Regions from separate parts of the Homo sapiens genome. Here region 1 is linked to region 2. Evidence: promoter capture Hi-C in human tissues and cell types (Jung and others, 2019). All regions are on one chromosome and are shown on one strand. The core of a region is centred on a gene start or on the middle of the fragment in contact, and the rest is flanking DNA. Distances in the headings are between cores, read along the strand shown.

Region 1 (3,946 bases), core at 982-3,481, 300 kb after region 2:
CTGGAAAAGCGCCTTATCACTTATACACTGCCAAGCGCCTTATGACCAGCGTGCCATTGCAAAGATCACGCAACCAGCCAGGAAGAAGATCCTTGGGCGCCACCTAGTGTCCATCTCGGGAATATCAAAGGCGACTGCATTGCTTCTCAAATTGTGGTTATTTCCAATGGGTTGTGGATCACTACTTTTGTTAAATACAAATAAATGATTAGAAAAGCGTATAAAAATACAAAATACAAGTCTGAATGTTTTATTATTAGATTTAGCAATAATATTTTAATAAATCAAAAAACGTGAAGAAAAAGTAAAAACTGCACAATGTTCATTATCAGTATAAACAAAACTAAACAAAGAGTGAAATGGTGGAAATAGCCATTGAAATACCCACATTAAATACCTAGACTAGTTTTGAACAACATGATATATATCAATATTTAGTTTTTAATGTGATAAATGAACTTGTTTCTTGTTAAAACTTAACTAGATTGAGTTGATGACAGTCACAGGGGATAGTGTCTATCTAAACTGTTTCTATGTTTTGTTTTAATAATATGTATAGTAAATAAACCAGCTCACAGGGAAATATTATCAAGGGTGGGGGAAGATACTTTATTTTATTTTTTGAAACAAGGTCTCACTCTGTCACCCAGGCTGGAGTACAGTGGCTTGGTCATAGCTCACTATAGTCTTGAACTCCTAGGCTCAAGTGATTCCCCCACCTCAGCCTCCCAAGTAGCTGGAACTACAGATGCATGCCATCATTGCTTTTTTTTTTTTTGACTTTTTGTAGAGATGGGGGTCTTGCTATGTTACCTGGACAGGTTTTGAGCTCCTGGGCTCAAGCAATTCCCCAGCCTTGGCCTCCCAAAGCGTTAGGATTACAGGTGTGAGCCACCATGCTCAACCAGGATATTAATTTTTAACTTTTATATAAAATAAAGTGAGGCTATATTTTCTAGTATTTTTCTTCAATCCTTCATAAATAGCCAACTCTAACAATTGGCTGAGCATGGCCAATTGGAATGCCATCAGTGAAGTATTTCCAAAAGCACTATTCTAAACACAATCCAAACTTGATTTCTTCAACAGTGGGATTGTGAGTTTACCAGGAACATGAAGAAAGGTTATCTGGCAGTGTTAGTGCACATTTGGTAGCGTTTGTTAGTGTTAGTGTTAGTGCAGGCTAATACTCACTATGTGCATGGAGGCTTCATAGGTCCAGTCGGCGGGCGTGGACTTCAAATAATCTCCACCTCCCGGGTTCAAGCGATTCTCCTGCCTCATCCTCCAGAGTAGCTGGGATTACAGGTGTGTGCCACCTTGCCTGGCTAATTTTTGTATTTTTAGTAGAGATGGGGTTTCGCCATGTCGGCCAGGCTGGTCTCAAACTCCTGGGCTCAAGGGATCCACCTGCCTCAGCCTCCCAAAGTGCTGGGATTACAGGCGTGAGTCACCGCGCCTGGCCAAGTTCTTTTTGTTTTGAAATAACTTCAGACTTTAAAGAAAAGTGTAGAAACAGTACAAAGGATTTCTGTAAGTACTTCACTCAAATTCCTACTTCACTCAAATTGTTAATATCTTATGTAACCACAGTACAATTATCAAATGCAGGAAACTAACATTGATACAATTATCTAATGGTACCAATTTTACAACTGTCCCACCAGTATCCTCATTTTTGGTCTCAGATCCAATCCAGAATCTCCCATTGTGTGTTTTTTTTTTTTTTTTTTTTTTTTTTTTTGAGATGGAGTCTCACTCTGTCGCCCAGGCTGGAGTGAAATGGCAGGATCTCGGCTCACTGCAACCTCCACCTCCAGTTTTCAAGAAATTCTCCTGCCTCAGCCTCCTGAGTAGCTGGGATTACAGGCACTCGCCAATGTGCTCAGCTAATTTTTTGTATTTTTAGTAGAGACGCGGTTTCACCATGTTGGCCAGGCTGGTCTTGAACTCCTGACCTTGTGATCTGCCTGCCTCAGCTTCCCAAAGTGCTGGGATTACAGGCGTGAGCCACTGCGCCCAGCCCTCCATTGTGTGTGTGTGTGTGTGTGTGTGTGTTTTGTCATGTCTCTGTTTCCTCTAAATTGAAGTACTTACTCTTTCTCGACCTTGATATTTTGGAATCATACATGTCATTTATTTTGTAGGATGTCTCTGAGTTTAGGTTGTCTGATGTATGCTGATTAAATTCAGGTTATGCATTTTTGATAGAGATACCATAGAAACGATGTAGGCTTCTCAGTACATCTTATCAGGAGGTACATGATGTTTATTTGTCCTATTACTGGTGACAACTTTGATAGTTTTGCCAAGGTGGTGTCTGCAAGATTTCTCTGGTGTAGTTTTTCAAGGGGAAAGGAGGAACACTGCGATGAGGAACAAACTTTGGTAGAAGGAGAATTTCTGCCCTGCCTCTGGTATTCAAGGTACATGCAAGTGAAGAAAAAACACCAGCCTCAATGAAGGCTGCAGGATCCACGTCCTCAGGGGAGTAAGTTTCAGTTAAAGCAGGAAAGTAAAGGGAACATTCAGAGAAGAAGTTGAGAATACTAGATAATTTGCCTGTGCAGAATCTGATGAAAGAGGGTACGGTGGAAAAAGTGGGAGATTGGGTTAGTTAGCAGGGATCCAGGGTAGTGTGAGGGGTGAGAGACCAAATGACAGATGCCCCAGGAGCTTGGAACACTGGTGGGATTGAGGTGAAAGGGATTATAGGGCTTGATTTCATTAGGCTGATGTCTCTTAATGTTGTTCCTTAAAGAGTGAGAGCAGCGGCATCTATCTTACCTGGAAGCTCATTAGAAATGTAGAATTCAGGCCCTACCTCAGATTTCCTGAAGCAGAATCTATGATTTTAACAAGAACCCCAGGTAATTTGTGGGCATCTTAAAGTTTGAAAAGCACTGTCTTCAGAAAACTGTGAGCAAACAGTTTAAGAAGCAACTGTGCAGCTGGCAGGTTGCTGATGTCAATAGCCTATGCGCCGGTGCTGGGGGTATAGCACCAGTGAGTCAAGCAGTCTGTGGCGCTTGCTTGCTTTCTTTTTTTCTGTTCTTGAGACAGGGTCTCACTCTGGTGCCCAGGTTGGAGTGCAGTGACGCGTTCTTGGCTCACTGCAACCTCTGCTTCCTGGGTTCAAACGATTCTCCTGCGTCAGTCTCCCTAGTAGCTGGGACTATAGGCATGCGCCACCATGCCTGGCTAATTTTGGCATTTTTAGTAGAGATGGGGTTTCACCATGTTGACCAGGCTAGTCTCAAACTCCTGACCTCGGGTGATCTGCCCACCTCGGCCTCCCAAAGCGCTGGGATTACAGGCATGAGCCACCGCGCCCAGCCTGCGACAGCTTTCTGATTCTGTGTTCTTGGCTACAGGAGCAGTAGCTTTCTGATTCTGCATTGCCTGTTGATGAGAGGTAGCAGCCTCCTTGGTGGTTCAGTTGAACAGTGTGGTTTGGCAGTCATTCTTGGAAGCTCAGTCTTTCTTTTAGCCCTTGTAATGATTCTGTGAACTCTATGTACCCACTAACAAATCTCTTTCTATTTTAACCAACTGGATTGGATTCTCTTGTCTGTAACTAAGAACTTGGACAAGAGCGGGTAAGTCACAGCAATATCTCATGGTCAGATGAAGGTGGAAGCAACCTTGGTGTGTGCCCTGGTTCACTGTGGGGTCACTAACGGGACCTCAGACAAAGGAATTTTGAGAGATAGGATGTAGCAAATTCATGGGTGGAGACCACTGGACTCCACTGAGGAACTGCTGTCACTACCCCCAAAAATGTCTTTCTGAGGAATGATCGCTGCACAATGAGGCCTTTTTTACAGTGAGTGACTTGTAGATAGCATGATACCATATTGTATGATTTTCAACATGTAAAGAGTTTGTTACAGAATGCACCAAGAATTAAAAAAAATATGGAATGTCAATAAGAAGGCAATTGAAA
Region 2 (3,823 bases), core at 837-3,336:
ATGCCTGTATCCAAAGATTTCTTTCTTTTTTTTTTTTTTGAGATGGAGTCTCGCTCTGTCGCCCAAGCTGTAGTGCAGTGGCGCGATCTCGGCTCACTGCAACCTCTGCCTCCTGGGTTCAAGCGATTCTCCTGCCTCAGCCTCCCAAGTAGCTGGGATTACAGGTGCGCACCACCATGCCTGGCTAATTTTAGGGTTTCACCATGTTGGCCAGGCTGGTCTCCAACTTCTGACCTCAGGTGATCCACCCACCTCAGCCGGCCCAAAGTGCTGGGATTACAGGTGTCAGCCACCATGCCCAGCCCAAATATTTCATGTATCCCATTAAATATATACACCTACTATACCCACAAAAATTTTTTAAATGTTTAAATGTTTTAAAAAGACACAAAGAGAAATTGACCACATTGCTTAAATGTGATACCACAAGGGAAGCCCGCTGAAACTTTAAGATGACCCTGACTCCACATCAAGTGCTAACAGAGGAAATGGTTTGTATTTTACAACTAGGACTAAAAATAAGACCCATTTTAAGAGCACTTTCCCCTGGAGAAAACACACATATCTTGAATTTAAAGATACATATGCAAATGCCTCAGGCCCCAGGTGGTCTTTACGGAAGCAGTCCCTGATCAGATCTCTCATCCACAGCCCACGTGCTTCTGCATTACAGAGGTGGGAAGACATCTGCAACAAATTTGGCGGTGCTTCTGCACTTCTGCTGGAGAGAAGGGCAGAAAAAAACCTTTACAGATGCAAAACAAGAAGGCTTCTCATTAGGCATTTGGATTAAGAACTATTGCTCAAGAAGCCCTGAGCAAGGCCTACAAGTTCTGATCTCTCTAACCTCCTCTCCTATGACTGTCCCCCTTGTCCATGGGCCTCTGCCATGCTGGCTTCCTTGACGCTCCGCCAACCCTTCAGACACACTCCCACCTCACGACCTTCCCGGGGGCTGTTCCCTCTACCTGGACGACTCTTCTCTCAGACCTCTCGTATCTTCAAGTCTCGGCTCAAATGCCACCTTTGCGAGGAGGAAAAAGATTTCTTTTCTTTCCCATGATATTTATCACCTCCTACTACACCGTATAATTTACTTAATTATCTATAATTCACCCCGTTTCTCCTTTCCCCCTCAAATAAGCTCCAGGAATGCAGAGATCTCTGTCCTGTTCACTGATGTCTATCACAAGCACTTAGTGCCTGACACACAGTAGGAGCTCGAGAAGTATTTTCTGAATGAATGAACAAATTTCTTGACCTGAAGATTCAGAAGAGTAAGAAGTGGGTGGAAAGGATGATGGTGAGGGGATGAGGAGAAAGAAGCGACAGCGGAGAATTCCCAAGGGAGAGACAAGCAGAGACTGGCTGAGGCCAGGCCGACCCCCTTTTCTCCCCGCAGCGCTGACGGGAGGCGGACGTAGGTGCAGGGCATCCCGCCAGCCGCACCCGAGGCACTCAGACGCAGGCAGCGGAGGCCGGCGGGCTTCTGGGCTCACTGAGAAAGTCCAGAGGCAGGACGGACCCACGCGGGCTCCGAGCAGGCCCCGTTGGGGGCTCCGACCCACGGCCCTACCCCTCCCAGCAGTGCCCACAACCCCAGGTCCTCTCCAGAATCCCCAGGGGCGTTCCGGGCCGCAATCCCTTCTCGGCTCGGGCCCCTCCACCAGCCTCCAGCGCTCGGGCCCTGCGCTCAGGCACCTGCCTGCCTGCGCCGGGGTCCCCATTCCGGCCCGCGCGGAGGCCCCAGCGCGCTCCTGCGGCCTCAGCCCGCCTGGCTGCCCCGTCGCCCGGCACAAGGGCAGGAAGCGCTCCGCGGCGCTCCCCGCTGCAAGGAAGGGGCTCCCGGCGCCCCTCGCCCCGGCCGCCCCTGCCCGACGCCCCGCCTGCGCGGCGCCCCCTCACCTCAGGGCGTACGTACGACACGAAGGAGGGCTTGGGGGCCTTGGTGCCGCCGCCACCGCCGACTACTCCTTTCCCCAGCATACCGCCGCCCTGGGAAGCAGCGACGCGCGGACGCAGAGGCGGCGGCTCGGGCTCCAGCTGGGGCAGCAGCGGCGGCCACCAGCACTAGCGGCTGGGGCTCCGCCCATCCCCAAGGCCGCGACCGCCGCGATGCCGCCCGCATCCGGCTCCGCCGCTGACACCGCTCGCCCCGCCCAGGCCCGTGGGCCCCGCCCATCCCGTGCGCGGGCCCAGAGAGCCGGGAGACCGCAACTGGAGGCCACGCCCCCCCATCACGTCAGGAGAGTTTGACCCGCCGAGATTCACCACCTTCCTGCGGCAGAGCCCGCCCTCATGCTTTCTCTGATTGGCCCGAGGCGCTGCCGGCCGAACCCCGCTCCCAACCCATTCTTGAGTGCACTTGGAGAGATGTTTCCTCCAACCAATCCAGAGAGCGTTCTCTCCGGACTTTCCAACGATTGGATGGCGAGGATAAAACCGTCGTCCAATGATCCTGCAGTCACCAAGTTGTCGTTAGCAGGGGTTCACGGCAGTCGTTTTCTTCCGTTTGCTTGTGTCTTTGGAATAAAACGTCCAAAAATGGGATGTATGGAATCTTGCTATAGGAGTTCCCAACTTACAGCGATGACGTTCAAGGTTTTTTATTTTATTATTATTTACTTTTGAGACGGAGTTTTGCTCTTGTCGCCCAGGCTGGAGTGCAATGGCGCGATCTCTGCTCATTGCAACCTCCGTCTCCCAGGTTCAAGCGATTCTCTTGCCTCAGCCTCCTGAGTAGCTGGGATTACAGGCGCCCGCCACTATATCCAGCTAATTTTGTGTGTGTGTGTGTGTGTGTGTGTGTGTGTCGTTCTGTCGCCCAGGCTTGAGTGCAATGGCGTAGTATAGGCTCACTGCAACCTCTGCCTCCCAGGTTCAAGCGATTCTCCTGCCTCAGCCTCCCGAGTAGCTGGGATTATAGGCGCCTGCCATCACACCCGGCTAATTTTTGTATTTTTAGTAGAGACGGGGTTTCACCATGTTGGCCAGGCTAGTCTCAAACCCCTAACCTCGTGATCCGCCCGCCTCAGCCTCCCAAAGTGTTGGGATTAGAGGCATGAGCCACCGCGCCATGCCGCTAATTTTTGTATTTTTAATGGAGACGGGGGTTTCACCATGTTGGCCAGGCTGGTCTCAAACTCCTGACTTCAGATGATCCACCCGCTTCGGCCTCCCGAAGTGCTGGGATTACAGGCGTGAGCCACCGCGCCCGACCTCAAGGTTTATTATTTTAAATGTAAACAAAAATGAGACAAACGATGACTCACGCCTCTAATCCCAGCACTTTGGGAGGCCGAGGCGGGTGGATCATCTGAAGTCAGGAGTTTGAGACCAGCCTGGCCAACATGGAGAAACCCTATCTCTACTAAAAATACAAAAATTAGCCTGGTGTGGTGGCGGGCGCCTGTAATCCCAGCTACTCGGGAGGCTGAGGCACGAGAATCGCTTGAACCAAGGTTGCAGTGAGCCAGGATCGCGCCACTGCACTCCAGCCTGGGTGGCAGAGCAAGACTGTGTCTCAAACAGAAAAAAAAAAGTGTCAAATCAAGTGTTAACAAGGCAGTGAGGAATAAGTTTGAGCGTTTGATAATAAAAGACTTTGTCAACTTCATTTTTCCAAACCTTTCCCTTCTTTGTGTTTCCAACAGGAAGAATATCAAGAGCCCTTAAGAGACTTCTATTTACTCTACGAAGTTATTGATAAAACCCTCATTTTTTAGTCAAGATTGCAAAGAAAATTCATTTCAGTTCTACATTTGGTGCCAAGCGTTGTTAGTTGCAGATAAATAAGATAGAATCCAGCTCTTAAGAAATTCAA

What was found. Contacts are between HindIII fragments. The study calls those that stand out against the background at their distance.
Region 1: a contact is called between a fragment that was not itself captured here and the fragment with the promoter of MTMR12 in region 2, in 1 of the 25 tissues and cell types used here (lymphoblastoid cells).

The regions. Positions count from the first base shown.
Region 1 is chr5:32,613,168-32,617,113 of GRCh38, forward strand. No RefSeq gene overlaps it. Among named protein-coding and RNA genes, the nearest start is that of SUB1, 30 kb to the left of the region's middle. The HindIII fragment of the contact is 9,950 bases long and covers 1-3,946 here.
Region 2 is chr5:32,310,853-32,314,675 of GRCh38, forward strand. MTMR12 (myotubularin related protein 12) reads right to left here and starts at 2,087. Exons shown (of 16, transcript NM_001040446.3): 1 at 1,906-2,087. The coding sequence starts at 1,986. RefSeq lists silencers at 1,416-1,555, 1,626-2,415 and an enhancer at 2,506-2,555. The HindIII fragment of the contact is 13,800 bases long and covers 1-3,823 here.